Linked DNA regions of Homo sapiens: all the other regions are linked to region 7. The links are contacts of gene promoters, found by promoter capture Hi-C in blood cells and fetal thymus (Javierre and others, 2016). All regions are on one chromosome and are shown on one strand. The core of a region is centred on a gene start or on the middle of the fragment in contact, and the rest is flanking DNA. Distances in the headings are between cores, read along the strand shown.

Region 1 (3,313 bases), core at 622-3,121, 960 kb before region 7:
GCTATGTAAACTGACAAGGATGCTAAAATAAAAGTCTCTGAAGTATTCCATGCCTTTTGGACCCTTTCCTCGCAACTAACTGTCAACTGTTGATCAAAAAAGTCAAGGCATTGTATGTTGCTTCTGTGGTTATTATTCTGTGATGCTTAGACTACTTGAACCCATAAACTTGGAAGAATCTTTGAGCAAATTTTCTCAGTTGTCTGTATGACTTCAGTATATTCCTGGGAATGCCATAGGATTTTTTGTGCTTGATACATGGTATCCAGTTTGCATAGTATCACTTCTTTGTAATCCAGTTGCTGTTAAGAATGATGTACTTTAAAGGAAAAGAGAAAACTGCATCACAGTCCCATTCTCCAGTGTCCATGCAATGAATTGCTGAGCATTTAGGAAGCAGCACCAAGTCTATTACAGGCATGGTGTGAAACTTGATGTTTGACCTGTGATCAAAATTGAACCATTGTACAGTTTGGCTTCTGTTTGCTTCAAAATATGTAGAATTGTGGTTGATGATTAATTTGCGAGACTAACTTTGAGAGTGTAACAGTTTTGAAGAAAACATTGAATGTTTTGCAAATGAAGGGGCTTCACGGAATGTTACAATGTTACTAATATAATTTGGCTTTTGTTATGCAAATTGTTAACACCAGCTATTAAAATATATTTTAGTAGAAATGCTTTAATTCATATTTTTTTCCTCTACACTGTGAATCTTTAAGCCTTGGTGGACTAGAGCAACATCGTGCTGCCCAAAGGACTAACCTATGCAAACTAGTTCACATTTTAGTGGATGTCGCAGTTAATGTGTAATAAGACATTATTTCCCCTGCATAATGTACAACAGCATTGAAATGACACATTAAGCCTAGCATCACATTGTATAGTACAGTCACTCACAAACCCTTCAAGGCTACCCTAATCATTAACATTAATATTTGTTTAAAAGCAAATCACCGATTTATCTATTGAAACTACTTAAATGACGGCAAACCAGGAATGACAGATGGCTGTGTCAGCAATGGCTTTAATGTGTTCCCTGCAAGTGGTCTCCTATGATAGAACTGCGTTCTCAAATGCACTCTCTTCAGGGTCTTAATATTCTGTGTTTTCTCTCTGTATTTGTAAAACATTATAACACATTAATTTCCTATCTCTACACATTTGGTTTGCTTAAATAAATGCAGGATATAAAAAAAATGGTTCACTTCTTGGCTCTCACCGTGGTTTCTTGGAGCATGGGTTGTTAGATGCAAGCAATGCACCCTAATAATACCCCGGGTCTGAGATTTAACATGACAACTCACATCAAATCGCATCAGAGGTGTGTGCTGCCTTCAGTGCATTTACATTGGTGAATCAGTCAAGATATTTTCCTCCCCCAAATAAACTTAGTTGTAAGTGATAACAATATTATGCTTCTCCAAGCTCAGTATCTTTCTGATTTTATATCAAAGTACCGCAACAATGCATCATTGTAGTTAATTTATTTCAAGAATAAATTCCTCATATGTCCTCAATAGTACAATTCTAATTTTCTTCTATTCATAAGATGAAAGAAATGGTTTGGAGCATAGAATAGAAAGTGCACAAATTGAGTACATAAAATGGGAAGCAACTGATTTCTCAGCTAAGAAAGGCTCATTTATCACAGAACACAATTGCTTTTCTCCCCCCACTACGCTTCCCATAATTGAAAAAGTGAGTCCCTATTTTTCACACTCATATAAATCTATGCGATTTGGATGCTAGTCTTATTGTATTATTTTGTAAAACTTTCTCTTTGGCTCATAATCCTTCCTAATTGTAAATTGATAAACTTTGCGGATGACATCTGCTCGTAGAATAAACACTTCTTCCAAATATTGGATTTTCTGTTTTTCATATTCCGTAAGTATGAAATGAATATTTTAATAGTATTATGAATCAAGCACACTGTATTTGAAATCACAAGACAGCACAGTTATTTATTTGAAGAATTCACTACCTTTTTTCCCTCTGAGACTTTTTTTTTTTCCATTCGATTATAAATTTACTCTTTGTAACCCAGGCCACAGAGGAAATGAATACCTTAGATTTTTTTTTTTCTGACAAAAAATAATTTAGCTTTTAAACAGACTGTGCTTATAATTTTATTTTCTTAAACATTTGTGAGGTTTTACGGGTAACTATGACATGCGCACCAAACAACTTTTCTACCAAAATAAGTTTCTACAAAAATATATAATAAACTAAAAAGTAGGTAAAAGGGGATTTTTTTTTTTCTTCATATAATCTGCTTTGATATGGTTTGGCTGTGTTCCCACCCAAAATCTCATCTTGAATTGTAATCCCTATAATCTCCATAATCCACACGTGTCAAAGGAGAGACCAGGTGGAGGTAATTGAATCACAGGGTCGGTTTCCCCTATGCTGTGCTCGTGATAGTGAGTTCTCACGAGATCTCATGGTTTACTAAGTGTTTGGTAGTTCCTCCTCTGTTTATTCTCCTTTCTGCCACGTTGTGAAGAAAGCGCCTTGCTTTCCCTTCGCCTTCCGCCATGATTGTAAGTTTCCTGAGGCCTCCCCAGCCATTCTGAACCGTGAGTCAATTAAATCTCTTTCCTTCTTAATTACCCAATCTCAGGCAGCTCTTTATTGTAGTGTGAAAATGGGCTAATATATGCTTCTCCTACACAGAGGGATTGAATATGAGTTTTGTTGTGGCAGAAAACTGGATATGGTCCAGTTGTGAACTTTAGCTCCTTTCTGTCATTCTAAGCAAAATTCTCAGGCCTTTGTCTATTATATTTGTATTTGGCAGCTGCAGAGTTCTGACAAAAAAAAGCAGAATGAGAAAATGGATTCAAAAGGTGAAAAGTCAATATTAGAACCAAGAGTCTAGTTGCTGATTTTGTGTTTACGTTGTGGCATTTTAATCTTTGTAGCTTCCCCTGCCCCCCACCCCCCAGTTCCTTTTCTGTTTTGAGCAGCAAACATGAAAGGGAATAGTAAACTAAAATAGAGAAATGGACAACATCTAAACTCCTGTTATTCTACCTGAGGAAAGAGGAAACTTTTCTGCATCCCAAATTGAGTCATAAGATCACTCTTGAAGGGAACTAGTTTCTGATTCTTAACACAAGACAGTCACACTTCTTGCCTTTTTTTCCAGAGGGCTACTGTCCAAGGCTATGTGGCCCCAGCTAACTTTTTCATTAATTTTTGTGGATAACCATGCTCTGTCCTACATGCTCTCACTTCCCTGGTCCCAGCTGATTGGAATGAGGTGACTCTGCAGGGCTACACAAGGACTTTGCCTAACAGGGATGGT
Region 2 (3,619 bases), core at 739-3,238, 630 kb before region 7:
TTAAGAATTTGATGGAAAGGAAGGTTGGTACACTGTTTCAATTACAAGCCAAATCACGGACACATGAGAAGTTGGCACCATTCACCAATTAAACTAAGGGGAAAAAATACACAATGACGACTACACAATAGCTACTTCGAAAGGGAATAATTAGATTATTCAAGGATTAGGCAAAACCCCTGGGAAATCTAATGCAACCTTCCAATATGACCCTCTCTATGCTGCAGAAATCAAACATGAAGTATATAATCAAGTAATTATATAAATTTGAGAAAAAAAAAGACCAAAATTGCCACTACTTTAATGTTCTCAATTCTCTACTCTCTAAAGACATAGCTCTAACAACATAGCTACATCTGTAACAGAAATTTAGTAATAACAATACATAAAATGAAATAAACTTATTTTATAATTCCAGTTCTTCTTTTTAAGATTAAGACTCAACCCAAACTGGATTTTGAGAAAACTGTTTATTATGAAATTTTGGTTCCCATCCAGTTACCAACTATTGGCATATAGTAAAAGCCTCCTATTATATATATATTTCCTTTAGGAAAGTCACAACAAACAAACCACAGCAACAATAATAACAACAACAATAAACAGAAATAGAATGACCATCCAGAGAACTCACTATTAGCATCTGACCTATCAACCTTCAAACTTTTTCTTCCAGGCAACTATATACATGTAATTAGAGAAGTGTTCTTCTATAGCTGCGATTTGTAGGTTTCATTTCTTACCAACTATATTGTTTCTATTAGAGTTTCCTAAGTCTTTTGCCCGTGGAATACTTTCTTAGTTATTCACTTTTAAGAATAACTCTATTTTTGCTAATTTTCTGATCTGCTCCAGATTAAAGCAACAGCTTTTGGTGCTGTAAAATTTACTCATCCAAACACTAATGCCATAAAATGCCTCCATTTTATGAAATTCTGCAGTCAAATAGCCTGCTTGTCATCTTCTAGAGCAATATTACTCAATTTGTTTTCATTATTGCCCCCCAAGGAGCCTTTTTAGACACATTTTTCCTAATTGGCCACCAACGACTTTTTAATACTACAGCTACACTATGTTTGTATTCTATGACCTTTGGGAAGGTATATTAATTGTCCCGCTATTTCTGCTATAATAAATTCCTACAAACTTAGCAGCAACAACACACATGTGTCATCTTACAGTTGTACAGGGATATCTGTCTGACACGGGTCTCATTGTGCTGGAGTGGGGGGATCACCAGGGTTGCATTTCTTTCTGGAAGTCTAGAGGCAAATGTGTGTCCAGCTTCTGGGGCCACCCATATAACTTTGCTTGTGATGGCCCTCCTCCACCCTCAAAGCAAATGTGGGATCTCTCTGTGCCTTTTTAGTCCATCTTTGTCTTCCACTTTTAAGGACTTTTGTGGTTACATTGGGCACACCTGGTGAATTAGTCCATTTTCGGCTGTTGATAAAGACATACCTGAGACTGGATAATTTATAAAGAAAAAGAGGTATAATGAACTCACAGTTCAAGTGGCTGGAGAGGCCTCACAATCATGGTGAAAGGTAAAAGGCACGTCTTACATGGCAGCAGACAAGAGAATGAGAGCCAAGCAAAAGAGAAACCCCCGCTATAAAATCATCAGATCTCCTGAGACTTATTCACTACCACAGGAACAGTATGGGGGAAACTGCCGCCATGATTCAATTATCTCCCACTGGGTCCCTCACACAACACATGGGAATTATGGGAGCTACAATTCAAGATGAGGTTTGGGTGAAGACATGGTGAAACTGTATCACCTGGTAATCCAGGCTAATCTCCTCTCTCCTTTCCAGGTCAGTTCATTAGCAACCTTAATTGCACCTACAACCTTAATTCCTTTTTCTCAGCTACCATAATGAGGTCACAGGTTCTAGGGAGTAGAGAATGGACTTCTTTGGGAGGGTGAGACCCTGGAAAAGCATTATTCTGCTTACTGAAAAGGGAAATAAACCACTGTAATACCTGAGGATTTTCTTGACCCCTAAGAATGAATGTTTACCCCCGTGGGAGCAGTGTCACCTCCTGCTGAGAATCCACGCTTACCAGTTGGTTCTACCATTATCTCTTCTTCTCTTCATTATTGGACTTCCAGGCCAGTGTACAATATCCCTCCAGACAAAAGTTCTTACTAGATTATAAAAATTTTTCTAAATACACATATGCATCTTAATGCACACTTTTAAAAATAAAATGAACAACATACCCATTTTTTCAGTATAGAAAATCTCATTGTTGACCAAATACATTTGTTGTGCTCTTTAAGAGCCTTTAAGCTATCCGGTTAGCCTAAGAGGCTCAAAATAGTGTCGAATGGAAATTTCTCCATGTAATCATTAGAAATACCAGGTACTGAAATGTAGACTGGAAAAAATGATACGTACTTAAAAGTTTCGTCTAGGTTGTTCAATATTTCTAACTCTTAAATCCACTTGCTATAAATAATCTATCTCTGGCACTTCTGAAAAATGGAATATAGAAACTGCAGCTAAAAATATGCAGTCTCCAAGGAAATGATCAACCCTATAGTTTCCTTTTGTTTTTTTAACTGGAGGTATAGCTGCAGAACCAGCAAGAAATCTGACATTTTGGGCCTGGAGGCTATTCTCACTAAAGTCTTTTTCCTTTTCTTTTTTTATTTTTCTTTCCTTTTTTTTTTTTTTTTTTAAGGCCTTGAGCCAAATCATTAGGTTTCTGTTCTCTCTCTTACATCAATTAATGGTACCTGAAAATCCAATTCAATTTAATTTTCTTGAAATGGAAACCTAGGGAAAAGTCCTTCTCTTGTTCAAAGGAAACCTATCTGAAAAACTGTCCCCACTATCAAAGATAATTGTACTCTGGGCTTCAGGACATCAAAAGCATGCTCAGAATAATGGTGTCTGGAAAATGGGACAATTTTGAAACACATTTATATCTATTTAGGTAATTACTTGGGAAGGAAGGCCCTGATTCTATGCATTAAAAATAAAATCACTTCCAATGGTTGGGGAATTCTTTCAGTGATAAAACTTCCCCATTTTGCCCTCAGTCATTTTAAAGTCAAAGGATTTGGTGATATCTTCTCCCCAGCCTCCAAAAGTGGTATTATTTTTCATCCATGAGTTTATTAAGTTTATCAACTAAGAATTCCAATTATTCATTAAAATGTGCAAAGGATTAAGTCTGTTTTCAATAAGCCTGGCTTGACCACCCACTTAAGCCTGGCTTCATATCTATGTAACCTGGATCCCTCCCGAGGCTGTGCTGACACAGTGGGCTCTTCCTTCTTTCATCCTAATTGTGTCCACACATTACTTAAAACATCAACCACCCTTTCTTCATCTGCTGGAGAAAAACCTCTGTTTTCTGAATTAACAAGTAGCCAAAATGACCCACCAAACCCTCTTGTTGGCTCTAATAGGAACAGTCACCACCGCCACCACCAGCCCCAGCTCCTAGGCAGAGCTGCTGCTCCTCTGGGTTCTTGCTGAAGGCTCTATGCTCCAACCAAAGAGTCCACCACTCCTGCCCTTCAGAGGAGTCCATGCAACCAGAGGGATCCGGTTGAAGTGGACTGTCACTCCCTTCAGTGGCTTCTCATCTCACTCAGAAT
Region 3 (3,404 bases), core at 352-2,851, 800 kb before region 7:
CTAAGGAAATCAAGGACACAGACACACAAGAAGTGAGTTGAAGAGCTGAGGTTTAATAGGCGAGAGAAAAGAGACAAGAAAAGCTCTCTTTCCTGCAGAGAGAGCATGGGGCTCCCAAGTGGGTCTTCTGGTTTCCTACTGAAATGCAAGGGATTTCATAGAGGAGCTTGAGGAGGCGGTGTCTCATTTACATAGGGATCAAGAGATTAGTCAGACCAGGTGTGCTGTTTGCATAGGGCGTGAAGAAGCTGGACATCTCACCCTAATCTTTTATTATGCAGATGAGGCCTCTACCTGGCTGGCTCCATGCTTTTTTACCACTTATGTAGCCACAAAAGGGAAGAGGGAACCTCCATGTTGAACATACCTGGCCCTTAGGTAGTGTGTTTCTATTGGCACAGTTGCCACATTTACCTGTGAAAGCTTCTAGCTTGCTTATCTGTGTCTGTGGCTTGATTTTACCGGCTGCTCTTTGTTAGAAAAGAAATGATTTGGCGGGTTGCTTGTGTTAAAAGGGAAGCCTTGCCAAGAACTCTCTTACCCTCATTAACTGCCTAAATAATTTCTTTTTATCTCCTGTATCCATTGAACATAGGTATTAACCTCTGCTTCTCTCTGAAGTTCCAGTAAATGACAGTTACAGGATTTTTTTTTAAAAAAAAGGGTTTAAGAAAGAAGAGATGAAAGAGGAGAACAGAATCATCAAATTTCAGAATCCAGGAAGCAGGATAAATGACATTTTATCCCAGACATTTTATCTCAGACACAGGTCTGAGAAAGCTGATTCCTAAGGCAAACTCTAGTAGGGATCCGAAGGCTGCAGTAGACCAAACACATCTGGGAGTAAGGTTAAGAATGACCAGAAATGAGGGATTGGTGAGAATTCAGCTCAAGAAGCAGGTACATCCATCTGAATAACAGGAAAAAGAAGAGAGAAAAGAAATTATTAGAGAAAAAAAATTCAAGAAATTAGCCAGAATTGTAGAAAATGAGTTTGTACATTAAGAGGGCTGTGCTACTGTGATATAATAAGAAATATATATTTTGGTCTTTGTATTAGTCTGTTCTCATGCTGCTAATACAGACATACTTGAGATTGGGTAATTTATAAAGGAAAGAAGATTAATGGATTCACAATTCCACATGGCTGGGGAGGCCTCACAATCATGGTAGAAGATGAAGGAAGAGCAAAGTGACATCTTACATGGTGGCAGACGAGAGTTTGTGCAGAAGAGCTCCCATTTATAAAACCATCAGATCTCATGGGACTTATTCGCTATCATGAGAACAGCATGGGAAAGACCTGCCCCCATGATTAAATTACCTCCCACCTGGTCTCTCCCATGACACGTGGGAATTATGGGAGCTACAATTCAAGATGAAATTTTGGTGGGGACATAGCCAAACCATATTAGTCTTCCACTAAATATTTGATTTTATGGCATGTAGCTCCTAAAACCCTTGGAACCTCTGACATGATAAGCATCTTTTAGTATGCTAATGAGATGACTGGTGGCTGGAGACTCCTGGACAGGCACTGGACGAGGCTGCTTGTCAGAGGAACTAAGCAAATGATTAGAGGGTTGGAACATCCAGCCACACCCTTCAACCTTCCACCAGTGGAGAGAGGGCTGGAGATGAACATCACAAACAGCCAATGATTTAATCAATCCTGCCTGCTAAATGGAGCCTCCATAAAACCCCAAGAAGACTGTGTTTGGGGAGCTTCCAGATTTCTCAACGTGTGGGGGTCCTGGAAGGGTGGCTCACCCATGGAGGGCATGGAGCCTGCGTGCCCCTTCCCTCATATCTTAACTTAGGCATCTCTTCATCTGGCTGTTACTGAGCTGTATCTTTTTATAATAAACTGATAACAGCAAAGTGCTTTTCTGAGTTCTATAAGCCACTCTAGCAAATTGTCAAACCCACAGAGTTGGGTGTGGGAAACTCTGGTTTGTAGCCAAGTAGGACAGAAGTTGTGGGTAATCTGGGAACCTACTGTTTGCAACTGGCCTGCAAAGTGTGGGGCAGTCTTGTGGGACTGAACCTTTAAACTTTGGGGCCTACATTGATTCTGTTAGTGTCAGAGTTGAATTGAACTGGGGGGCACCCAGTTGGTGTCTGCCAAGAAGTGGAGAATTGCTTGGTGTGGTAACACTCCTCCCCTGTCTCTTGTCAGATGCATTGAAAGTGACGTATCAAGAAGAAAACAGTGTTGTTGTTTTTTTTGTTATTTATTTTTTGTTTTTTTCCTATATAAGGACCTATTGAGTGTACAGCATAACCTATAAAAATAAAACCACACCAAGCACTTCATTGTGAATTTCAGCCATGGGGGCAAAGAGGAGTACCCAAAAGCTACCAGGTAGAGGAACCTCCTTCTCCCCAAAGCAGCAGGAGGTTCTTCTGAAGGATCAGGAATCAGATTGGCTTTAGATGCCTCAAAAACAATACTAGAGGGAAGAAGTCAATGCAGTAAACTTTTGATATCCCAAGGGAAAATGATTTACATTAGAAAATAGAGACATGTTCACATCAAGTCTTTGTCAAATTAGTTCTCCACACATGGATGGTCTTGAGAATATGCTCCACCAAAACTATGAACTAAACTAGCAATAAAGACACAGGATCCAGTTATAGGAAATCCAAACCCAAGTTGGTGGTTAAGAAAGAGCCAGCTGGGGACTGGGAAGAAACCTGTCCAGACTAGAACAGGTCAGATGTCACCAGAGATGAAATAAAGATGCAATCAATAAAATTAGCTCATGTGTGAAGCTTAGACACTGGAGGAAAAGTTTGCAAAGTTAGTGACAGACATTTGCACAACTAAGCAAACACAAGTGTGATGATTAACTTCAAGTAAAACCAAAATATTGCTCATAAAAAGGAAAAGTTATTATAGATTAATATGTGACCCAGCATTGACCTAACTATAATAAGGTAAATACTGTATAGTAATCTAACTAAACTAATGAAGATGATACTTGGGGGTCAGTCAGGTTGAGGGAGAGTGAATGAGAGTGAATCTTGATTTTCCATAGAGAGAACCCATTAGATAGCCTCAAAATAGAAATATTAAAAGTAACAGCATGAGCTATTTAGAGTTATGGAAGTAACTATGAGCAACAGCAACAAAAAATCTATCAGAATTTAAAGTAGTTTTCTCTAGAAAGGGGAGAAATCTCGGATATATTGGACAAGGTGTGAGGACCCTGTTTTAAGCACATTAGGAAGCCCATGGTCTTCCTACTATGCTTAAAAGAATTATGTGCATCTATAATTTTGATGAAATTAAAAGCCAAACTGAAATATGCAGAATAAAAGAACCAAAAAAAAAAAATGACAAAAACGTCACACGTTGTTCATTCATAATTCTGCCCAAGTAATTGTTTTTTCAAAAAGTC
Region 4 (3,617 bases), core at 289-2,788, 670 kb before region 7:
AGAAGAGACTAAAACATTCTGTTAAAATTTATCTTGATTCACTTCCATGCTTGATGATTGGTTGAGATCTTGTTTTTCATAAACAGTTGATATTTTATCAAATAGCAGTGGATCAGGCTTAAGAGTGATAGGCCTCTAATCTTTTAGTCATTATCCACACTGATCAGATTAAATAATCACTATAATGGCTCTGCAAACAGATGGTGGTGAGTGATTTTGGTGGTGGTAGAAGGAATGAATAAATTGGAACGAGTCTTATATCTTAATAACAGATTAGATTCACCCAAAACCCCATTGTATATTGAGGTACTGAGTCATTTTTTTAGATTCTCTGTGCACAGTTGCATTTTCCGATATTTCCACAAAAAGATACATATATACACTTTTAGAAGAAAAATAAAACCAATAAATGCTATTAAGTTAAAGAGGATGTGCAATTTTCAACATTCCACATGCTTAAAACCTGGCAAGTTTCATTGAGTTCTAACCTCCACTAATAATTTTATTTATATTAAGGGTGGGACTGCTTTGCTGCTCCAAGTCAGAAAACAAAATAGATCATTAATCCCTGACACAGCATTTCATTTACTGATGAAATCCTCAAGTGCTTCTAATTTAGTCGGTCATTTTGCCCAGTGCTGAGCAGAGATTAGTAGGCTAAGCCAGTCAGTCTGGGTCTCCCATTCGATCACTGGGAAGGAAATATTTTCTCTTATAGCAGAAAAGTACCCTAAGCAAACCTTTAAGAGGTTTGGAAAGTGATATTCCTTTGCAGACTGTCGAGTTTTAAGTGCTTCTTCAGCATTTATAAAGCCTCATTGCTTGAGAAGGGGTTCATTTCCCTGGCTTTCTTTAGTCTCCCCGCCACTGTCCCACTTTGCTTCACAGTCCTGAAATTCAGCTAGCGGAATCTTTTTATTAGCAATTGAAACAATGTCCAGTTCAGGAGAGAAGGCTTCTATTTGCACTTACAGTCTAAAATGCCCTCATTAGGGATAAAAGTCCAGAGTTCCTCTTCTATATCTTAATTCTTATGGGAAAACTCCTCTGCCCTCACTGTCCCATCATTTTGTAGTTAAAAGTCTCAACTCAGTCTTATCTCCAGCTCTGTCACTTGTGTTTGACATATTTCAGCAGGTTGTCAAAAATGCTCAGACCTCAGGAATAATTAAGCTGCCAAAATTAAATTGGATTTTAAAATTTTTCATAGATACTGATCACTCACCCAAGACCCCCTTTGACTCCCCTCCTGTATAGATCCCCACTTCTCCTAGGTGGGGAGAGCACAAGGATCTCTTTACAGGAAGGACACTAAGTTTATATAAAAACAAACCCTGAATTTGAGCATCATTAGGAAGAAGGAAGTCTTTCGGCTGACTTCCTTTCAGCTCAAGTTAATCCATCAGGCTTCCCTAATGATCTGCGTTTTCTTTCCAAATAAAATCTTGGTTGTGAAATAACATAATATGTAGATTTAAAACTTCCACGAGTGGCACAAGTTCAGACATAACCAGGTCCATGCACATTTGTGTCTTTCCACAAGGTAAGACTTGTATTGATGCTATTTTAATTATAAAACCCGTGAGCTACATTGAGCTCCCAAGGAGGCACTTCTCCTTAGTATTAGCCATACACTCGGTAGCCAGGGCTGTGCGTATACATGCTCAAGCCACTCCACAGGTCAGTCAGTATTACAAAGTGTAGGTAATAGTATACTTAACCAATACATAAGTAAAATAGATCAAACATTCCACATCAAACAAACTAACATTTAACATCAAAAGAAAAGGGAATAGGAAAAAGGGGTTAATGAACCAGTCTAAGGAGAGTCACACGGACAAGGAGAGTGTCCTGGCTTGGTCCAGATGGATGTTAATATCTTGCAAGGAAACGTCTTTGATTTGGTCAGAACCTTGGATGGCAGATGCTGGGTACTGATCACCAGTGGCAGCAAGACAGGGTCAGTCAAGACGGCCATGTGTAGCTGGTGAAGTCCTGCTCATTTTATGGCCCTTGAGCCCTCTGACAAGGACTGGTAGTAAATGGTTACACCACTATCTGGTTGGGTGTTGTCTCTATTGATTAGGTGAGCACCTGGACCCGATGGCTTGATGCCTTTTAAAATGTAAGATGGAGTATTTTTCTAAAATGGAGTCACTTAGGTCAAGGGTATACAAAAACAATGGATTCAAGAAAAAGGAAGGACTATCTAAGATTTCAGGTGGCTTAGTTTTAACTCCAGAATGATGGAGTAATAAGAATGGGAGGTACAGTGAGGTATTAGGATGGCATTTTCCTAGAAAACTGCTGAACACACTATTGAGTCTCAGAGATGTTTGGCTCCCCCTGGGAAGGCGCTCAATTTTCCTCACTTACCCTACAGTGTGTCTCAGGCGTGGTTGCAGACAGAATAGATTTCTTGTGCCTCATGCCCACTTGAGGAATCCCAAAGCCAGTCTCATTCCAAAGGGAAAAGAGGGTCACAAACACCTCTAATAAGAGGTAATCCTATTAGAACAATCTGAAATGCTAAGGGTAGGTGCATGCTAAGTGTGCACTCTGAACAATAGAATCATACATTTCAGTGTTGGAAATACATAAAACCTATTGTTTTCATTGTGTTTAATGTTCTAAGCATTTCACATGTTTAACAACCCTTAAGTTTGATAACAGCTAATTTAGATTCTTGATTTTAAGCATGAGAATACTGAAGTGAAGACATTTTATAACTTGGCTTAAGTCACACAGGGAGTTAAGGGCAGAGGTTGAACTAGAATCCAGGTTTCCCAGTTTCAGGAAACTGGTAGATACTTTTAATACACCACGGAATGAGCACATTTTGAGCTACCATCTCTAATTCAAAAGTCCACTGTAACAGGGAGATGTTTGCAATCAACCAAAACTAAGTGACATTATTTAGTTACTTGTTATACTTATGTGCTTATAATGGATTATGATACTTCCCAGAGGCAAGATGTACCCATCCGTAAGAAAAAGAGTGCAGTGAACTAGGTTGACCACTCTGGGTTAATGCTTTTCAGTGTTTTTCTCCTGTTATCTCCACATTTCTCAGCTTAGCCAAGCTAACTCCACTACTTTATGTTTTCTAGGCTTATTAATCATGCCATTCAAAGCTTTTGGCTGAACTATGTATTGCTTTCTTTCTTTTTTTTTTTTTTTAATCTCAGCTATATGGATCCTACAACATAGGTGTTTTTACGTCTGTTCGCATTTATCTCATAAAACTTCTTGAAACTCTTCAGACTATAAACTGTGCCTTGTAATAAATGCTTAAGAAAGTAGCACATACAAGCACATTTATTTTAGGTATGCTGTTGCTGTTCTGCATAACGTATTGCTGTAAAAGAAGTAACAAGCCATTTGGTTCTAGTAGCAAGAAAGAACTGTAAGTATTAACTGCTTTGCATAATCATGATTTGGGGCTTATGTGACGATGTTTAATCTCACAACCTGACATCCAGCAATTATATAACTTTTTAATTTTTATGCAAAATAATAAGATGCCTTTTTACAGGAAAGGTCCAGACTCTACTTGTCAAATATATATTTTATAGCAGCTTTGTGTGGTAGAGAGGCCTGACTCAGGCTTGCTTATA
Region 5 (3,658 bases), core at 456-2,955, 590 kb before region 7:
AGTAGCCAAAGGGTTTCCACAAAAGATGTAAACAACCCAAATGTCCATCACCAGATGAGTGGATAAACAAATGGGGTATATACATGAAATGGAATATTATTCAGCCATAGAAAGGAATGAAATTCTGGCACATGCTACAGCACAGATGAACCCAGAAAACATTATGCTAAGTGAGATAAGTCAGACATGAAATGACAAATATTGTATGATTCCATTTACATGAAGTACCCACAATAGGCAAATTCATAGAGCTAAATAGTACATGAAAGGATACCAGGGGCTTATGGGAAGAGGAAATAGGGAGTTACTGCTTAATGGTTACAGAGTTTCTGTTTAGAGTGATGAAACTTTGGAAATAGTGGTGATGGTTGCACAACACTGTGAATATAATTAATGCCACTGAATTGTATATTTTAAAATAGTAAAAATGGAAAATAACATTCCACAAGTCTTATTGAATAATGATGTAATGTATCAAAAACCATCATTGTGCATTTTAAATGTGCAAATTGCACAATATATGAGTTACATCTCCATAAAGCTGTTTCAAAATAAAGTCAATTGGAGGTTGAAGAGTAGGAGCATAAGACACTTTAGTGCTCTTGCTATCCTTTCCTTAAAAGAATAGATGGGAATAATAATAATATTAAATGAAAATAAAAGTTGCTAACCTCACTATGAAAACCTACGGAGTCTGAGCACATTCTGGGAAATGTGTGGGAATCAATACCTGGATGGACTACCATAATGCCCGTTCAACATTTATGCATTTAAACACTTGCAAAATGAGTTTTCTATTGGAAAGACTTGTTAAATATATTCTATTTCACCCTCTATCTTGGCAGAGCTGGTTATATTTCCAGAATGCCTGTAGGTGTCTGTGATGGATCATTGCTGCCCTGTCCCCACACCCCTCATCTAGGAACTTTGCAAACTTCAAGGATTGCTTTGTGATCTGAAGGGCCCCCTGGTAGTCTGTGAGCTGCGTGGCTTTGCCAAGATTGCTAGCCTGCCAAGTCTTCGGCCTCCAAAAGACTAGCCAGGGCTTCCTCATCTGATGAAAGTACAGAAAAAGGCCATGTGCTTGGCAGACTTGGCCAATTCCCTCTGCTTCATAGAGAAAATAAATCTGTAAAGAAGTTCAAGGGAGAGCTACCATCTGGTCAGACTCCTGGCTTTCTCAATATGGCTCCCAACACCTACTGCCAAGTGTCAAGAGGGCTTCCTGTGCTGGACAGAGGCTGGCGTCGGTGTTCAGTGCCAATATGCTAAAGTCAGATGGGCCCCTGATGAGGTGGGGATCGTCAGACTGGTTTCAAACTGCAGTCTTGTCACCGCCACTGACACATTCACAGAATGGTCAACATTTCAGCAATAAAAGTTGGAGCAATTTCATAGCTGGCCCTGTCATTGCAGACTATCTGTTAATTTCTTGAACAATCTATAAGACATCCAACTAAAAACCTACCCAATAACTACAGCACTGTGCATCCTAGATGACTCAAAGGCAGTGCCATTGGAAAAAGCTGCAGAACTGTTTTTATAGTGCAGACACTTTATTTGCAGCTAATTTGGCCTGCTTCCTGCACACTCAGATCTTCAATTCTAAAAGCCAAGCCAGTTTTTCTTTTGTTCAGGGCTGTTCATGCTGCAAAAGTTCACATCTAGTAAGATACTTTTCTTTGAGAGAAAATGGTGATCTGAAACTTGTGCACTTATTGCATTATTAGATTAGCCGTGAAGATCTGCTTGGTTTAAACATTAATCATGTTTACTCATTGATGTTTCATCTTTAATATCTGAAATTAGTAGTAATAATAAATGTCAAAATATTGACCTATACTAATATTTCTTATTTTTATGAAGATTGGAAGTCACTGATAGGGTATGCAAAGTTTGAACCAAAAGGGTCAGTATCACTTTTTGGGACTCCACGAGAGAATTTAATATTCTTTATTATTGTCCTTTAGGTTTATAAGCAAAGCCAGTACATGAATATTTTTTGTCTCTAACTAAAGACTCTCTTCTGTAAGTTCCCCAGGGAAGCAAAACATCTGTATGCAGCTGTCCTTCAAACCAAATTCTTCAGCACCGCATGCCACAAACAAAGCCTCAAGATCAAACCCATCCGTGAGTGATTTCTTATAGCTGGGCTGTGCTGCTGTCCCTTCAAATTCAACATAGTCACCCTTCCTTGGCTTTCTCTCTCTCTGTCTTTTAACGTATGCCTAGCATTCTTCATCCCCCTTCCAAAGCTGGGAGTCCCTAAGACACTCCCTACTCCTTCCCCCTCTCCGTCTAGTTGGGCATCAGGTCTGGTTGGTCCTGTCATTGCTCCATCTTTCTCATGGTTACAGCCCTCCTTATTCTATCACATGGATGACCACAAAATTCTATTCCTTCCCATCATATTTTTGACCTATACATATTGTCATCCTGAGTGTTCCCAAAAGTTGCTTTTACTACATCGGCTATAAAATTTTAAAAGGAAAAGAAAGGAAAGGAAAGGAAAGGAAAGGAAAGGAAAGGAAAGGAAAGGAAAGGAAAGGAAAGGAAAGGAAAGAAGGGTAGGGGAGGGGAGGGGAGGGGAGGGGGGCGGGGAGAGGAGGGGAGGGGGGCAGGGAGGTGAGGGAGGAGAGGAGAGGAAAGGAAAGGAAAGGAAAGGAAAGGAAAGGAAAGGAAAGGAAAGGAAAGGAGAAAAAGGGAAGGAAGAGAGAAAGAGAGAATTCCCTATTGCCCTAGGTATCCCATAGAATAAAATGAAAATATACAGATGTGTTCTTCAAATCCATTATGCATGCAGCTCGTTACTTTGCTACCCATGATCTCCCTTGCCAAAAAGACCAAGAGGGCACCCTTTCCACTAAGTTGCTCCATTTCTCTGATTATCACCTTTCTGAAACAAACAAACAAACAAACAAACCTTTCTTGGCCATCCCAAACCACTGTCTTCATGCCTCTAAGACCTTGTAGATTTCACTGAAAGTATAGCTTTTTGGAATTTATGATACATTTGATTATTCTTTATTTTATTCTGATACTGTTTGCATTTGTTTTTACATGTCCTGCATCCCCAGCTAGATGTTGAATTGCCTGAGATGGTGTCTAGATCCTGGCATCCTCAATGGCTAATACACTGCGCTCTGTTTATTCATACCGATCAACATTTTCATTAGATCTGTGATGTACTTACTGGTTATTGTGCTAGGCCTGAGGATGCTGCAAGTGAATAAGACATTCTCTGCTCTCCTTGAAGTTATAGCTTATCGAGGAAGAAAGGTATGGATTGTTAAAGCTGCAGGATATGTAAGTAATGAAGTTTGCAGTGCTACACATGTGTATGTTACCATGTGACTGTCTTAGTCTATCCCTGCTGCTCTAACATAATAGTCGAGACTGGGTCATTTATAAACAACAGGAATTTATTGCTCACAGTTCTGGAAGCTGAGAAGTCCAAAATCAAGGTGCCTACAGCTTCAGTGTCTGGCAATGGCCTGTTCCTCATAAATGGTGCTGTCTAGGTATCCTCACCCGACAAGATACAAGAGCAAAAAGCTAGCTCCTATACTAGCTCCCCCAGTCCTTGTATGAGGCACTGATCCATTGTGAAGGTGGAAAACTCCCGACTTAATTGCTACCCAAAGGCCCCATCTCTTAA
Region 6 (3,383 bases), core at 438-2,937, 540 kb before region 7:
TTAATACTTAAATTTTTATACCATACTTTATTTCAAATAATACTTAAAGCAAGACAAAAGTAGTCATATTCTAACTTTAGAGATGGGAGAAAGTGAAATTCTGAAATATTTAGGTATTTTTTGAGTTTATAGAACATAAAATGGCAAAAATTGAACTCAAACTAAAGTCTGACTCTGCAATCCATTCTCCTTCCCAGATTTTTGCAGAATTAAAATTAATTTTGTAGAGGGAAAATATATAGCATCTGTGTGTGTCTCTGAGAGTAAAGGCAGATAAGACGACTAGGAAATAAATAGACGAGATCATGGGTAATTGTTAGCCCTAACCACATTTCTCTGCATTTTACTTTCACAAGTATTGATATTTAGATTTGAGGTTGAAATTTTTCATGCTTTTTCTCAGCCTGAAGGTAATTTTTTTTCTGGAACATATAATTGAAAGCAATGCATGAACGGAAAATACTTTTTTTCCCCCATTTTAACTTCATTCTTTGGCTATTTTTATATTTGAATAACTTGAAAGGCCAAACTTTAGAGCTGAAATGTTCCATATGCCCAGTTTTACTTAGGAAGAGACTGTTGGCATATGCACAATGGAAAAGCTGAGTACTGTGGTTGACAAACAATTGAAAAAATAGCCTTTGAATATGAACAACATGAAATCTTGTGTTGTGATTCAGTGACTTGCATGTAGCTGTGGTTTGTCTCTAATATGTCTTTGTAAAATTAGATGCTTCCTTGTAGGATAATTAAATGTTCTTTATTTACCTTTTCTTTGGATATGTCTGCAAATTATTTCCAGTAGTTGATTTGTGATTTTAAACTTTCAACTAAGAAGAAAAGTTTTTATCTTAACTTTTCTTCTCAATTGCCATGTTCATCTCTTTTCAAGTGCTCCATTTCATATTCAGTTGTTTAAAAACTGAAAAATGCCCTTTTTGAAAAGATTTGATTGAAGTTTTATCATATTGAAAAATTGAAACCAACTGGAAAGTTGAAAGTTGTCCAACTAAGGGAGAAAGGTTTAGTATTCAGCCAATGAAACACTAGCGAAAATTTAAGAGTTGTATTAAGATTACTGTGTTATACAAAAAAATTACAATGTACGATTAAGTGGAAAAGTGGGAAACAAAATTATTTCAATTTTTATTGTGAAGTATATCAAACATCCAGAAAATAACCTATAAAGTATATTGAAAAATTCTTTCAAATCTAAACTCAGTGCTCCATTTTTGTAAGACACTTTAAACACAGAAACAAGGTTTCAAACATGGTTGAGGCCTTCATCACTGTCCTTTTTTTGTTTTCGATTTTTTTTTTTTTTTTTTTGAGACCGAGTTTCACTCTTGTTTCCCAGGCTAGGGTGCAGTGTGCAATCTCGGCTCACTGCAACCTCGGCTCCCTGCAACCTCTGCCTCCCAGGATCAAGCAATTCTCCTGCCTCAGCCTCACAAGCAGCTGGGATTACAGGCATGCACCACCATGCCTGGCTAATTTTTGTATTTAGTAGAGATGGAGTTTCACCATGTTGGTCTGGCTGGTCTTGAACTCCTGACCTCAGGTGATCTACCTGCCTTGGCCTCCCAAAGTGCTGTGATTACAGATGTGATCCACCACACCCGGCCACACCATCCTTTTTGAATCCATGTTATTCACTTATTCCTCAGTTAACCAGTAAGAGGACCTCATGTTTATCATTCTTATCCATGGTTTTATATTGATAAACATATTTTTATATATGTAAGCAGTGCATAGAAATTAGGTGGAACATTTTAAATTTTATGTAAATTTGATAAATTTATATATTCTGCAACTTGCTTTTTAATCCTCTTCCCAACATTATATTTTTTAGATTTACTCATGCCATACTTACAGATTCAATGTATTCATTTTTTTCTGTTATGTAATGTTGCATTAGATAACTATGCCACAATTTATTTATCTGTTCTCCTGTGGGTGGACATTTAGGTTGTTTCTATTTATTCACTAATATAAACAATGCGGATGAATCTCATTGAATGCCAGTTTCTTCAGGATTTGCACCTATAAGTGGGATTCCTGGATCATTGAGCAAGAGCATTTGCAACAATTAGATTGTTCAAGATGATTTCTGATATGATTTGGCTGTGCCCTTACCCAAATCTCATCTTGAATTGTAGCTCCCATAATTCCCATGTGTCATGGGAGGGACCTCGTGGGAGATAATTGAATCATGGGGTGGTTACCCCCATACTGTTCCCATGGTAGTGAATAAATCTCACAAGATCTGATGGTTTTATAAGAGGAAACCCCTTTTGCTTGGTTCTCATTCCCTCTTTGCCTGCCGCCATGTAAGACATGCCTTTCACCTTTTACCATGATTGTGAAGCCTCCCCAGCCACGAGGAACTGTGAGCCTATTAAACCTCTTTTTCTTTATTAATTACCCAGTCTCAGGTATGTCTTTATCAGCAGCATGAAAATGGACTAATACAGTTTCCAAAGCATTTGTATACATTTATGCATCCACCACCAGGAATTGGTGCTCCTGTTTTTCCAAATTCTCACCAACATAGTTTTGTCAGATATTTAAATTTTTCCCAAAAGATGAATAGGACATAATAGTCTATTGTTTTAACTGGAGTTTTCCTGATGTAATCTTTCATAACTGCTTTGGCTATGCTAGTTTCCTTTGCATCAGTTGCTTATTTTTGTTTTCCTATTGGGATGTTTTATTCTGATTGGGTCATACAAATTCTTTAGGTAATCAGAAAACTAATTTTTTTTTGGCTAAAATTCCCCAATTTTGTTCATTCTTCAAAACTGCAGTAACTATTCTTGGTAAGTAAGTTTTCTGTATAAATTTTAGAAGCACATTTTAAGTTTGACAGAAACCTTGTTCAGATCTTGATTGAGACTGCATGAAACTTACAGTGTAATTTGAGGAAAATGAACACTTTTCTCATATTTCCTCCAAACCATGAGCAAGTTATACATTTTCACTTATTTGGATTCTTTATGTCCTTCACAAATATTTTATACATTCCTCAACAGAGATCTTGCATGTTTCTTGTTAAGTCTATTTCTAGGTACCTTTTTTTTTTTTTAATTGTGAATGTGATCCTTTTGTTAGTGCAATTTTTTTTAAGTGTATTGCTTTATTTGGTAGGTTTGGGGAATACATCATGGTGAAAGAATAAATGAATTAAAGTACTACCGATACAGGGACCAATAACGTTAAAAGAGGCATACACAAAATGAGTAGCTGAAATCATTTTCATAAGAGGACTTGACTCATGGAAGAAAAATTTTAATTACAGTGGCAAAAAATTCTGTATAAAGTAGAAATTGGTTTCAGTAACAGTAAAGAATGTGTGCTAGAAAGTAGAGGCAATTGGATGTAAA
Region 7 (3,701 bases), core at 111-2,610:
GAGCCCGCCTCCACCTTTCCCACCTGCTCCCCACCTCTGCGCCGGCCGCATTTACCCCGCCCCCCTTCCAGCGCCCGCTTGGCCCAGGTCACTAGACGGAGCTAGTGGGGATCGCCAGGGGAAGGAAGGTGCTGCCACAGGGAATTTTCTCGTGCAGAGGGGAGACCTGCAATCCCTGGCTTTCACAACGTCCCCCACCCACCCCATACCACACACGCTTAGTTTAACCAGCAGCGAGGAAGGAGGAGGAGCCGGAGAGCACACAGCCTGGAGATGCCAGGTCCTAGGAGATGTATCCACGGAAGAAGCTTTGCTCTCACACTGAAGCCCTCCCTGGGCTACTTTGGGGAGACAGTACCACCCCCTGCCGCCCAGGTGAAGTAAGCCCGAAAGCCTCAAGAAAACCCCTAGTCCCCGGCGTCCTTCTCTTGATAACCCTCTTTCCCCATTTGGGAAGCCTAAGTTTAGCCGAAAAGCAACTGCAATAAGTTTCCCAAGGGCAGATAGGTGATGTTGGGGGGAGAGGGTAGGGAGCACGAGAGTGCCAGAGAGGTCTTCAGCTGCGCACAAAATCAGCAAGCTAAAGTGCATCTTACTTACCAAGGATTTGGTCTCCGGGTTTCCCATCGGCGAACTGAAACTGGTCCGTGAAGAAGTGGCAAAGTAACATAACTCCTGCAGCGGCCAGGTCGGCCTTCGGGAACCTCGCCATGCCGCCGCCGCCACCTCCCTACCCCACCCGCCAGTCCTTCGCCGGTGCTCGGGGGCTCCCGATGCAATAGGCACGACCGGGCCAAACGCTGCGGATCGGTCTCGGTAGGACCCGGAGGCCTTTGTAAATGTCGCTGCGATTTCACAGTAGGGAACCGAGAAGAGGAAGAAGCGAACGCGAGTAGGAGCGCAGCGCTCTTCGGACCTCTGAGGCTCTCTTTGCAACTTGCCACACTCGCAGCCCTCACCCGACACTGAACAACAACCGCGGGGAGGAGAGGCCACTTGCAGCCGAGGCTCGCAAACTGTCGGTTCCACTCGGGCAGCGCCAACCCGGTGCCCGCGGACGGTGACTTCCGAGCCCCAGCGATGCGCTCCACTGGGTTCAAAACAGATCTAATTCCACAGCCAGCGCCGCTGCCTGCCCCAGATCCACTAGGGCTGGTCGGCTCTGCAGGAACTTTCCTCTGTCTAGGGATGGCCCCGGCAGGAGGTTTAGGTTTGCGGGAAGGAGGTTGATGACGAAACCCTCCCGACAAGTTTTGCTTCTTTTCTTCGCCCGACGCAGGGCGCGCGTCCTTTCTCGCAGCCGGAGGAATGGGCAGCTCCAAAGAGCTGAGCCCTGGGAAGGTTAGGGCTGCAGCAGTCTGAGGTCCGAAGCCAGGAAAAAAATGTGTTTAAAAAAAAAAAAAAAAAAGAGGAAGAAGAAAGGAAAAGGGTGGAGTGGGAGGGAGTCACGCTGGAACCTATCGGGAGAGGGTTCCTCCGGGCTCAGGAGGAGGTGGCCCCAAGCCCCCGCGGAGCCCCAGGAGTTTGGTGGCGGAGGAGGCGCTGCCGTCGCCACGCTCCCCCGCGCTCCTTCTCCACACTTTGAGGAGGGAAGGCAGCTCGCAATTTGCCAGATCTGCCGCCGCACCCTCCTCCCTCCTCCCTCCGCCCTCCCCTTCGCTCCTCCAGGCTTCTCCCACCTTCCTCCCTGAAACCGGCAGCCCGCACAGACCTGTCCAATGGCTGCACTTTCCTCGGGGCTGGCTGAGGAGTCGCGGCCAACAGATTAAGCCGGGGGAGCCTAGCGAAGGGGAGGGAGAGGGCCACTCCAGCCCCGTGCGCCCCAGGCAGCCGGCTGCCCCAGAGCGCGGGGAGAGGGGACAGGCCGGGGAGCTATCGGGGGAGCGCGGGGCGGTACCTCCGCGCCGCCGGGGCGCCATCCTCGCAGCCTGCTCGCACGCCCTGGGCAGCTCCGCCAACTGCGCCCCACACCCACCTGGCTCCCGGGCCGCCTTCGCGCCCGACTGCGGGGGGCGATCGCGCCCCGCCCCGACCCTGGCGGGGTCTCCCTGGGCACGAAAGGGTTAACCACAGCTCGCCCCTTCGCGGAGGCTGGTTCTGGTAGTGGCTAGGGAGTGGAGAAAGCAAACCAGAGCCGGTTCGGTTACCGACTCTGCGAAGCCCCCTCGACCCCAGCCCAGCGCGGGAGGGTGGCGGAAGGTGGTGCACCGCAGCGTGGTCCCCGCCGCTGCCGCCGCGGCTTTGCAAAGTGTCAGCGGGGGCGAAAGCGAGAGTTTAAAGGAACAGGAGGCCCATTGAATTTCCTACCGGAGCTTTCAGGGGCTCTGGCTCCCCAGTTTGTTTTTGTTTTTTCAGCTCGGGGATCTGTTTCCGCGTTAACCCTTGCCGGCCCTCTCGTTAGTTGATATCTTATTTTGCATACAGTTAATCATTTTTGAAAGGGATAAATACAAGGAAAAGAAGCAAAGCGCTATTGGTTAAAAGTACAGGATCTAGAGCCCGGACAGCCTGGGCTGGAATTTCACCTCCCCCGCAATGAGCAGTTTATCTCCTAGCCTCAGTTATCCATCCATCAAATGGAGAGAATTAGAGTAACGCCCTTATAAGGTGGTTGCAATGGATTGGATGAGTTAACTGTATATTTAATAAATATAGAACATTGCCTACCGCAAAGTACATGGCTTTGTTTAAGTGTTTACTGAAGCAAAAGTGAGAGAAGACGACTTCAATCACATAATAAATGTGCATGTGTTCTAAGTTCAAGGTCCTTTCCACTCCAAGCTCTGAAGAGTCTATGGATGCTGTCAATAGATGTCTCGGCTTGCCACAAAACCCACTGGAAGTGGATCCGGATAATCAATCTACCTTTGCAAATGTGATGCTCAAAGGACGGCTCTCTCATGGGAAACAAGAAAGGTTTCCCTTAATCCAATACTCAATTTGCTCTTTATTTCCAAACAACAGATATACACGTATAAACACAAACATATATCATGCCTATACTCTTTATTATGCCAGGACCCTGGCTCTTTCCTGAGCTTTCCTCCCATAGGTTGATTTCTACTTAGGTAACTGGGTTTTTCTATTTCTGCTTAACTAGGAGTGTTTAAGTTCTATGTAATATTACATCCGAATTTGAGTACCCGGATATATACCTGCTTAAAATCAAGTTTGAAAACTGAGTCTTCTCATCAAAACCTGATTGTGCGGTTGACCCTTGAACAACAGGGGTTTGAACTGCGAGGATCCGCTTTTGCATGGATTTTCTTCCTCCTCTGCCACCCCTAACAGAGCAAGACTAACCCCTCCTCTTCCTCCGCTTCAGCCCACTCAATGTGAAGACGATGAGGATGAAAGCCTTTCTGATGATCCACTTCCACTTAATAAACAGTAAGTATATTTATCTTCCTTATGATTTTCTTAACATTTTCTTTTCTCTAGCTTACTTTATTTTAAGAATACAGTATGTAATATGTAGAACATACCAAATATGTGTTAATCAACTGTTTTTATATTATCAGTAATGCTTCTAATCAACAGTAGGGTATTAGCAGTTAAGTTTATGAGGAGTCGAAATTATACATTAATTTTCTACTGTGTGGGGGTCCGTCCCCCTGACCCCCATACTGTTCAAGGGTCAACTATAGTTTAATTGATGCCGATTCTTTTTGAGGATCATAAATCCATGCGGAAAGCGTCCC

Evidence for each region. Contacts are between HindIII fragments. The CHiCAGO score rates a contact against its expected background, and 5 or more counts as called.
Region 1: a contact is called between a fragment that was not itself captured here and the fragment with the promoter of PLXDC2 in region 7, in 1 of 17 cell types (megakaryocytes). The highest score is 5.1, in megakaryocytes.
Region 2: a contact is called between a fragment that was not itself captured here and the fragment with the promoter of PLXDC2 in region 7, in 1 of 17 cell types (neutrophils). The highest score is 5.7, in neutrophils.
Region 3: a fragment that was not itself captured here is called in contact with the fragment with the promoter of PLXDC2 in region 7 in 1 of 17 cell types (neutrophils); the score reaches 5.0 in neutrophils.
Region 4: a contact is called between a fragment that was not itself captured here and the fragment with the promoter of PLXDC2 in region 7, in 1 of 17 cell types (neutrophils). The highest score is 5.1, in neutrophils.
Region 5: a fragment that was not itself captured here is called in contact with the fragment with the promoter of PLXDC2 in region 7 in 1 of 17 cell types (neutrophils); the score reaches 8.5 in neutrophils.
Region 6: a contact is called between a fragment that was not itself captured here and the fragment with the promoter of PLXDC2 in region 7, in 1 of 17 cell types (neutrophils). The highest score is 7.3, in neutrophils.

The regions. Positions count from the first base shown.
Region 1 is chr10:20,778,523-20,781,835 of GRCh38, reverse strand. It overlaps NEBL (nebulette), which reads left to right. Exons shown (of 28, transcript NM_006393.3): 28 at 1-1,863. Among named protein-coding and RNA genes, the nearest start is that of NEBL, 120 kb to the left of the region's middle. The HindIII fragment of the contact is 5,709 bases long and covers 1-3,313 here.
Region 2 is chr10:20,447,782-20,451,400 of GRCh38, reverse strand. No RefSeq gene overlaps it. Among named protein-coding and RNA genes, the nearest start is that of MIR4675, 100 kb to the left of the region's middle. The HindIII fragment of the contact is 5,687 bases long and covers 1-3,619 here.
Region 3 is chr10:20,611,966-20,615,369 of GRCh38, reverse strand. No RefSeq gene overlaps it. Among named protein-coding and RNA genes, the nearest start is that of MIR4675, 62 kb to the right of the region's middle. The HindIII fragment of the contact is 2,352 bases long and covers 426-2,777 here.
Region 4 is chr10:20,482,740-20,486,356 of GRCh38, reverse strand. No RefSeq gene overlaps it. Among named protein-coding and RNA genes, the nearest start is that of MIR4675, 67 kb to the left of the region's middle. The HindIII fragment of the contact is 3,197 bases long and covers 1-3,136 here.
Region 5 is chr10:20,404,337-20,407,994 of GRCh38, reverse strand. No RefSeq gene overlaps it. Among named protein-coding and RNA genes, the nearest start is that of MIR4675, 150 kb to the left of the region's middle. The HindIII fragment of the contact is 4,109 bases long and covers 1-3,658 here.
Region 6 is chr10:20,351,545-20,354,927 of GRCh38, reverse strand. No RefSeq gene overlaps it. Among named protein-coding and RNA genes, the nearest start is that of MIR4675, 200 kb to the left of the region's middle. The HindIII fragment of the contact is 5,565 bases long and covers 1-3,383 here.
Region 7 is chr10:19,814,091-19,817,791 of GRCh38, reverse strand. PLXDC2 (plexin domain containing 2) reads right to left here and starts at 1,360. Exons shown (of 14, transcript NM_032812.9): 1 at 601-1,360. The coding sequence starts at 712. It overlaps LOC124902388 (a long non-coding RNA gene), which reads left to right and starts at 1,564. Exons shown (of 2, transcript XR_007062078.1): 1 at 1,564-3,390. RefSeq lists an enhancer at 1,671-2,436. The HindIII fragment of the contact is 8,470 bases long and covers 311-3,701 here.